Linked DNA regions of Homo sapiens: regions 1 and 3 are each linked to region 2. The links are contacts of gene promoters, found by promoter capture Hi-C in blood cells and fetal thymus (Javierre and others, 2016). All regions are on one chromosome and are shown on one strand. The core of a region is centred on a gene start or on the middle of the fragment in contact, and the rest is flanking DNA. Distances in the headings are between cores, read along the strand shown.

The links. Contacts are between HindIII fragments. The CHiCAGO score rates a contact against its expected background, and 5 or more counts as called.
Region 1: a fragment that was not itself captured here is called in contact with the fragment with the promoter of KIF3B in region 2 in 1 of 17 cell types (activated CD4 T cells); the score reaches 5.4 in activated CD4 T cells.
Region 3: a contact is called between a fragment that was not itself captured here and the fragment with the promoter of KIF3B in region 2, in 1 of 17 cell types (M2 macrophages). The highest score is 5.6, in M2 macrophages.

The regions. Positions count from the first base shown.
Region 1 is chr20:32,512,096-32,514,940 of GRCh38, forward strand. The region is part of intron 3 of NOL4L (nucleolar protein 4 like); the gene reads right to left. The region is part of intron 2 of LOC101929698 (a long non-coding RNA gene); the gene reads left to right. Among named protein-coding and RNA genes, the nearest start is that of NOL4L-AS1, 48 kb to the right of the region's middle. The HindIII fragment of the contact is 4,104 bases long and covers 1-2,845 here.
Region 2 is chr20:32,276,396-32,279,467 of GRCh38, forward strand. It overlaps KIF3B (kinesin family member 3B), which reads left to right and starts at 1,256. Exons shown (of 9, transcript NM_004798.4): 1 at 1,256-1,370. LOC124904885 (a long non-coding RNA gene) reads right to left here and starts at 1,148. Exons shown (of 2, transcript XR_007067561.1): 1 at 909-1,148. RefSeq lists enhancers at 1,012-1,061, 1,108-1,618 and silencers at 1,272-1,431, 1,452-1,631. The HindIII fragment of the contact is 2,066 bases long and covers 951-3,016 here.
Region 3 is chr20:32,444,264-32,447,358 of GRCh38, forward strand. It overlaps NOL4L (nucleolar protein 4 like), which reads right to left. Exons shown (of 11, transcript NM_001256798.2): 11 at 1-3,095. Among named protein-coding and RNA genes, the nearest start is that of ASXL1, 87 kb to the left of the region's middle. RefSeq lists an enhancer at 1,159-1,820. The HindIII fragment of the contact is 7,271 bases long and covers 1-3,095 here.

The sequences.
Region 1 (2,845 bases), core at 79-2,578, 240 kb after region 2:
CATAAGGTCTGGCCACATGGGGCCCCCACTCCCGAAGGCAAGCAACCACTGCCACTTCAGCAGCCACTTCTTTTAGACAGGGTGTGTGGCTCCCATTTTGCCACAGTCCCCACCACTCCTTATCATATTGCACAGCTTTGCTCATTTGCAAGTATCAATTATGATACTTGCCAGACCCTTGAAGGCATCTGTGTTTCCAACCACTGTCTAAGTCAGTTATCTTCCAGGTGAACACATGCCACTCTCACCTCACCCAATCCCGCCACCCCATAGCATCCCCCAAAAACATCCTCAGGTGCCTTATGCCTCCCAGGTCTGAGCCAGGCCTTCAGTAGCCCCCAAATTCTGGTTCCTCCTTCATCATATGCAGAGGAACATTCTCCTCCCATTTATTCCTTTGTTGTCCTGAAGATCAAAGTGATGCATGTTCTTTTTGCAGAGAATTTGCAAAGTACAGAAAGATGTAAAGAAAAAATTTAAAAACCATAATTGCACCACGCAGCTTGGCATATGCTTCTGTTTATTTTTTCCCTGTGATTTTTCTTTTTTACACATGATCTCATAATGCATACAGAGAATTCCAGTCTGCTTTTAAAAAGTTTTTTTTTCCTTAACATTTTGTCATAGGTATTTTCCCCAACATCAAGAATCTTATTTTGCTTTGTAAGTAGAATTTTTATGGCCATGTAATATTTTACCATAATTTGCTTAAGTCATTCTCTAACGATTGGCTATTTAGGTTGTTCCCATTGGGGCTATTATAAACAACACTGCAGGGGACATCTTTGTGCATAAATATTGCTCCGTATTTCTGATCTTATTTCTTGCCTTTTTGGAACAGATTACAAGAAATTAAAAGGTAGGGACATAATTTGATAACCATTAAAATCTCTGACCAAGCTGCTGTAGGAATTGTTTCAATTACTTGTTACCTGGCCTCCTCCTCCTTCTTCCAAGGACTTCAGGCCAGATTCATTTTGCCCCAGCCTTTTAATCAAAAGGTGCCCCTGGTACATAGTCCCACTGATGGGCTGGGATTTCCATAGCGTGAGGAAAAGTGGGAGCAACTTCCAGACCAAGTGCCCTCTACCATCACAAGGAGGCCCAAGAGACAGGCTGCAGGGTGACAGGGCCGAGGTCCAGGAGGACCAGAGGATATCCGGGGGTGACTTATAATACCTGCCCCTCAAGAGCCATAGCCCAAAAGGGTCCCTGCAACCTTGAAAACGCGATACCAAGGGCAAGAAGCCAGACATAAAACGACAACCACTGTATGATTCTACTTACACGAAATACTTAGAATAGGCAAATTCAAAGAGACAGAAAGTAACTCGAGGTTACTGGGGACTGGTGGCTGAGGGAATGGGACGTTATTGCTTAATGGGTACAGAGTTTCTGTTTAGGGTGATGAAAAAGTTTTGGAAATAGATAGTGGTGATGATTGCTCAACAGTGTGAATATAATATCTTTAAAATGGAACGATTAAGCCGGGCACGGTGGCTCACGCATGTAATCCCAGCACTTTGGGAGGCAGAGGCAGGAGGACTGCTTGACCCCAGGAGTTCAAGGCCAGCCTGGGAAACATAGTGAGTCCCTCGTCTCTACTAAAAGGTAAAAATGTTAGCTGGGTGTGGTGGCACGTGCCTGAAGTCCCAGCTACTCGGGAGGCTGAGGTGGGAGGATCACCTGAGCCCAGGACGTTGAGGCAGCACTGCGATCCAGCCTGGGTGACAGAGACTGTGTCTCAACAACAACAACAGAAACAAACAAACAAAATTATTAAAAAGGCAAGTTTTTGTGCTGTAAATGTTTTACCATAATTTAAAAAGGAAAAAAAGTCTGCCAACAAGCGGTGAAGTTACCCAAAGAGGACAAGGGAAGTTCCTGCTTGGCAAGGATAGGAACAGCCCTGCAGAAAAGGTGGGGACCCGGAATAGCTGGGGCCTAGAGGATGGGGGTCCTCTTTGACGCTGTGTACTTCTGGTGACTTTATAGATCAAATAACATTTTGAATAAAGTTTTACAGGAATGCAGAACTTAGTTTTGCTCTTTAAAGCTACCCTGTCACATATAGAATGTTTCATTCTTTGTTCTTTGAGGAAGAAGTAGACGTCGGCTGGGTGTGGTGGCTCACACCTGTAATCCCAGCACTTAGGGAGGCTGAGGCAGGCGGATCACCCGAGGTCAGGAGTTGGGAGACCAGCCTGACCAACATGACAAACCCCCACTCTCCTAAAAATTCAAGAATTAGCTGGGCATGGTGGCGCATGCCTGTAATCCCAGCTACTTCAGAGGCTGAGGCAGGAGAATCACTGGAACCCGGGAGGTGGAGGTTGCAGTGAGCCAAGGTCATGTCATTGCACTCCAGCCTGGTGACAGAGCAAGACTCCGTCCCAAGGAAAAAAAAAAAGTAAATGTCACTAATGGAATGGCTAAGAAACTGGCCTGAAAGGAACCACCCCCTCCTCCTCCTTTTTTTAAGAGAGACTTCTGCTTGGTTGGGTGGCAGGGATCCTCTGCACCGATACCAAACTCAAATGGGTTTCCACCCCACCGTCAACCTAGATTTGACTTTCTTAACCTCAGTGGGGTTTTAAACCCTAGCCCCATACATTGACCGGGTCGGATGCCACATGTCAGGCAGGCAGTCTAGTGATGACACTGAGATGGTATCGCTCAGAAGAGCCGTGGGTCCTGTTTTCAGAGGTGGATGTTTGGACTGAGAATTCTGCCATTTCTGTTTCCTCTAAGAGGAGGCTGTCTGGTGAGAAGCTGTTAAGCACCATGGTGAGTGTGACATCATGGTGAGTGTGAAGGGCGCCCAGCACTCTCGCGGCCCCGGTCG
Region 2 (3,072 bases), core at 6-2,505:
AACAGGCAAAAAGTAGTTGTAGGCAGATGAAGAAGACCATCTCAGGTATTCATTTATTCAAGGAGCAAAACATATTTGTTCAGCAACTACTATTGACTAAGCTTGGTTCCAGGCATGGTGGATACAAGAGTGAACAAATAAAAGACTGCTCTTATGCAGTTTCTATTTAGTGGGGAACAGCAGGTGTAAGTTCCATGGGGGTTGGAACCTGCCCTTCTAGGCCAGTGTGGTTGGAATAGAGTTTTAACGAATTTTGCAGGAAGTAATAAGGACTTCATATTTGATTCTAAGAGCAATGAGACTCCATTAAATCGAGTATTAATCAGAAAGTGGCATGATCTGTTTTATTTATTTATTTATTTATTTATTTATTTTAATCTTTATATCTGAGACGGAGTTTCGCTGTTGTCGCCCAGGCTGGAGTGCAGTGGTGCCATCTCTCTCACTGCAACCCCTGCCTCCCGGGTTCAAGCGATTCTCCTGCCTCAGCCTCCCGAGTAGCTGGGACTACAGGCATGCGCCACCACGCCCGGCTAATTTTTTGTATTTTTATTAGAGACGGGGTTTCGCCATGTTGGCCAAGCTGGTCTCGAACTCCTGACCTCAGGTGATTCACCTGCCTCAGCCTCCCAAAGTGCTGGGATTACAGCGGGAGCCACCGCACCTGGCCGCATGATCTGTTTTAAATAATTACTCTGGCCACCTTATGGAAAATGGATTGTTCGGACAGAGCTGGACAAAAGAATGGAAACAGACCAGATATTTCAGGCAGGCTAGAGATGAGCGTGGCCTGGCCTTGCCTGGGGCGGTTGTGACTGACTGGATTGGGTGAAGGACAGGAAAGCTACAACAAGGGTGCCTATAGGTGTTCGTATTGAGTCACTGGGGGCACCCTAAATGGGAGTTACCTCAGTAGCAGTTTGAGACACCAGTCAGATAATGGATGTGAAAGCTTTTAGAAAGGTTGAACGGCGGCTGAAATCGCGTGTGTTCCATTTACAGATGGGAAACTGAGGCACGAGATACCAGAGGATGGAGTCAGGCCACGTTGTGCGCCACTCTCCCCGCTTAGGTGGGTGAGGAGACCGAGGTGTGTTGGGCCCCCGCTAAACACCAGCACCGACCTGAGCCCCGCCCAGACCCCTCCAGCCGGCTTTCCCTGTCCTCTGCTCGTGTGCCAATAAAGTTATTGAAATTGACACCGGTTGCTAAGGAAGTGGGTCGCCGAGCCAGGTTGCTAAGGAAGTGAGCGGCCACTGTCTCTCCCCATCCGGGGCAGCGGGGAATGGCTGAGCCAGGGGTTCGCCGCCCCCGCCGCCGCCGCCGCCGCCGCCGCCGCCGCCGCCGCCCGCTTTCGGCTCGGGCCTCAGGTGAGTCGGAGGGGCCGGGCGCCCACCGAGCAGGGCTAATCCTGTGGCCGCCTGGGGTTTTCCCTGCGACCTGCGCCCGCGCCTCTGCCTGGCTTTGCTGTCCCGCGAGCCGGAGCATCCTCTGCCCTGCCTCCTAGGCATCCTTTGGTAGTCCGGACGGCCTTGCCCCTCCTTCCCCTGGCAGGGTCGCGGCCCGACCCCCAGACACGGCCACCTTGGGTCGCAGCCCACCTGGGGGCCCTGAGGCGGTGGTCAGGGCCCCAGTTTGGGAGGAGGGCGGGGAAGCGAGAGCCTGGGGTCCGAACCTCGGCGCTGTGCTGGGCTTGCTGTGTGACCTTGGGCAAGTCTTTTCACCTCCCTGGCCTTAGCTGACCTGTTTATTCAATGGGGTCCTAACATTGCTGCTCAGAGTGGTAAAGATAATGAGAAGTGTATGTGAAAGTGCCCTAAATGGGGAGAGGGAGAATTCTTAGGGCACCCTAGATGGGAGACCAAGAGGGCAGTTTGAAGTCTGAGCGAGTTAGAGACGTGGCATTTCCACTTAGTAACTGTGTGGCCCTGGGCAAGTTAATTTCTCTGAGTCTTCTTTTCCTTATCTGTGAAATGAGGTAATAGACTACTGTGGAAATCAGTGAGACTGGGTATGTCAAGTAGCTTGGCACATAGTAAGTGCTCAACCAGCTATTATGAGGCGTCCAGGGTAGGAGGGCAAGACTTCCAGGAGGAGATGACTTTGGGACAGGTAAGGTGTAGGTGTGTAGAGTGCCAGCTCATATGGGTAGTCCTACTGCAATGCCAACCCCCAACCCCGGTTTTACTTCTCCATTCTGCTCAGAGCAAGGGAGGTACTTCTACAAGTAGTCCTGGGAAACTCTTTGAGGTCAACCCCTTGTAGATAGCTGGGGTCATGGTCTCATTTTCTACCTGGGCTTCGTTGACCCTTCCAGAAGAAAAAAGGCATCTTTGTGTCCTTTGGGAAGTGCTTAAAGCAGTAATAACTATTTACAAGCATATGATTAAGAAGCACTTTACCAGGCATATTATTTCATTTAATCTTTATGTAGACTTTGCCAGGTGCCTGGTGATGTCATCCTCATTTTGCCGATGAGGAAACTGAGGTTCAGAAAAGTAAAGGGAAGGACCTGCTTAAGAATCCTTTTTTTTTTTTTTTTTTTTGAGACAGAGTCTTAGTCTGTTGCCCAGGCTGGAGTGCAGTGGCGCGATCTCAGCTCACTGCAACCTCCGCCTCGTGTGTTCAAGCGATTCTCCTGCCTCAGCCTCCCGAGTAGCTGGGACTACAGATGTTCACCACCTCGTCCACTAATTTTTGTAGTTTTAGTAGAGACAAGGTTTCACCATGTTGGCCTGGCTGGTCTCGAACTCCTGGCCTCAAGTGATATACCTGCCTCGGCCTCCCAAAGTGCTAGGATTACATGCGTGAGCCACCACACCCAGTCATTGCCTAAGAATCTTGTATCTATTAAGTGATGGAAGTGGACGTGTTTCTAGGTAAATCCTGTATTTTATCCCCCATTCACTGTTGCCTCTGATTTTGCAACAGTTGCTATTATAAGGCCACAGGGGTATTCTTTTGTTACTTTTAACTGGCTAGAAGTTAAAAGGCAAGGAAACAAGATCTCAGGTAAAGCTTTATTTAAATAGATACCACCCAAAGTGAGGATCTCAGAAAATAGTTGGAATC
Region 3 (3,095 bases), core at 574-3,073, 170 kb after region 2:
ACTAAATTATATAAAAATCAGACCATGGACGGATTGAAACTGGTATTCTGGTGAAATACTTTACTATTTTGTAAAAAGTTTTACAAAAAATTACAAATTAAAAGTATCAACCCTCTGAGTTCAAAGCAGCATTTTGAAAATGAACTGGTAGTTAATCCTGTAACCACCCTTAGAGTTGTAAGTGGCCCTTGGGAATAGGGATGGATGGGTTCCACCTGTTTGAAATCCTCGAAAACCCTCCTAACTCCCTGCCTGTCCCCCTCCCCGTCAGCACTGTCCTTGGGAATAAACTGTCCTTTGTAAGAGTGGTGACGGTAAAATGAATTTCAGATGGGTTACACACACTATCACTTGTCTACCTGATGATCCACCACTAAGACCAATGCCCACTTCTCTGATGCTACCCTTCTTGTGGGATTAGCCTCCTGCAAAGACTCTGGAATTGGAGTATCCTACTCTTGCATTTCCTTTTTAACTTAGGATCCCAAATGATCACTTTGTGCCCTGAGGCCCTTCAGAAGATTTTTAAATGGCTGTGGGACAAGGGCTTTGGGAGCTCCTTTTGGGAGAAGGCAGTCCCTCTGGTGAGGGTGAGACAGCAGTGAGCTTAGTTCATCAGAACCAGCTCTTTGGTGCCCTCCAAGTCGGGAGTAGGGGGAAGGGGTTGAAGCTGCATCTTTTAAAACAAAAGCAAAACAAGTTCCCTGACTGAGCCAGCTAAATGGAATCCTGTTTCCATGCAGAAACTTGCTCCTGATTCTGCCATCTCTAGGGCTTCAGGTGTAGTTTCACTGGAAAGGAGGAGCCCACCCAAGAGGTGGGGTCGACATGATGAAATCCATTGTCCTGGAGGGGCCTGGGAGGCCCAATGGACTTTAACAACATATTCTTTCCTTTCTCTTGAAAACACATTGAACCTACGCTCTTGCCGCAGTACTAAGGCAGGCTGGAGGGTGGTCAGTTCCAACAGCTTGAACTCAGAAAAACATGACTTCAAACTGTAGCTTATGCTGATCTTTAGATCTAATCCTTGTGTGGGTAGGGGGAGGGAGCCCCTTCCCCAGTCTTTCTCACTCCTGTCTGCCAAGAAATGCAAACGGTTCATGTCTAGCTTGGGTACTGCCTCTGGGAGGAGAAGTGACACGTTAAGTAACTGATACCAGGAATTCTAGGGTGGCGATTGTCTCTGCCAGGTTTTAACATTAAGATTTTCACAAATAATTGCCTGGGGTAACATTTTTGCAAAAGATCTTACTGATTACTTTGTAGTATTGTTCACACACAAAAATAAATATTTACACGAATTCAAATGTTGAGTAGTACTGAGCAGGTGGGGCCAGATGTGTGGATGGCTGGGGTGTGGGAGAGGCCTTGGGCACTGGAGGTTGTGCTGTGCTAAGGGTGAGTCTCAGGTGTCCTGGCCCTGACCAGAGGCCTGGGGATTGGTCAGATGGAAGGCAGAGGTGGTGTGGCTGGATGGGGTATTGGAGGCCACTTGAGAGATAACGACCACCCCCAACCTCTAGGGGCCGGAAGTAAGCACGGGGTGGGCACCCTACCTTTCAGAGTTCTGGACCTGAGGCAGGATGGGGCATCCTCACTGGTGCCCCCCCCATCCCTCCTTGGGGGGAGTCTGCCACAGTGCCGGGAGGCAGTGGCCACAGCTGCAACAGGCAATTGGCTGCAGAAAAGCTGGTTTGGGAAGGGGTGCCTGTTCTGGGAGCGAGTGGCTCTCCGTGGCCATCCTAGGATCCACTCGGCCCTGGCTCCCCTGGGGCCTCTCTGCTCTGAGGGAGGAAAGGCAACAGAGGGCTTCTGCCAGCTCTGGGCAGGGGCGGGCAGCAGAGAGCTGCTGTCATGGCTACGGAGTGTTGCACGGAGAGGCCCTGGGGGCCTGCTGAGGTCTGGGCGAGTCCCTGGTTTAGCAGCACTGGTAGGTATTGCACTGAGCAAGAGGAAGTGCCTATCAATCAATCAATCAGGGAGGAAGGAAACCAGGCCAGCTTTTTCTTTTTGCCCTTTTTCACACTCCAGGGATTATGGGTTTCTTCCAGGACCGGCCCCTCCGGAAGGGCTGGTCTTAGGAGAACCCAAGTGGCTCCTCCACTTCCACTGATCCCTTTACTCCAAACATGGCGCAAGGGGATGGGAGCTGCAGCCCGCCCTGGAGCTCACGGCTGCCTGATAGCCGGGGCTCACCCTGAAGAAGTGGCCCCTCTTGGCAGGAGTGAGTCTGAGGGGCCAGGCCTGTGCACAGAAGTTCAGACCTGGCTCCTGGGCAGCGGGGTGTGAGGGCAAGGGCCCTGCCAACCGGCTGCCATCTCCCAGCAGTCCGTCCTGTCAAGCAGCTGAGGGCCAGAGCTGGAGGGCTGCAGTGGCTGGTTAGGGACAGGACGCTCTCTGGGTTCCAGCTCCTGGACACCCAGTCTGGACTTACTTACCTCCCAGGCAGACACATTGTGTGGGGGAGTTGGGGTTACAGCTGTTCAGAACAGGCTCAGGGCACATCCTGGAAAAAGCCCACGCTGGAGTGTGAGGTAGAATACAGGTGACCATGGACTGGGGCTTCTGTAGAATGGGGTCGGGGTGCCTCTTTTGTTTTGCTTTGCCATGGGTGTGGGTGAGGTCCTCCTGCTTGGCGTTGCCTAGGGAGGTGCCTGGTGGTGTCCCTGTGGCAGCACTGGGATCTGCAACAGGATGGCCTGGCCAAGGGCTAGCGGCCACAGGGTGCACCAGGCATGCAGAGGAACAGCCAGCCTGGCACCTGTCCTGCCCCTACTGGCCCCAGCCCACATCAGTGTAGTGATATGGAATGTTAGGTATGGGGATACATCCTTCTGATCAGACAGACACAGACTAGCAATCTGTACAAACACAAAAGAATCCATTTTCAGAAAAATAAATTACTAAGGGGAGAGGAAGAAAGGGTCCACTTTGCTTTTCTCAATAAATATGCAATTCTGCTCACCTAAGACTTGAAAGGTAATTATCTGGGGGTGGGATTCTAACATCAGGGTCCACGAAGGTGATTCTAAACAGAGCTGCAGCCCCAGCGCCTTGTCAGGGGAGCCCCCAACCCTTCCAGAGCTGCCCCG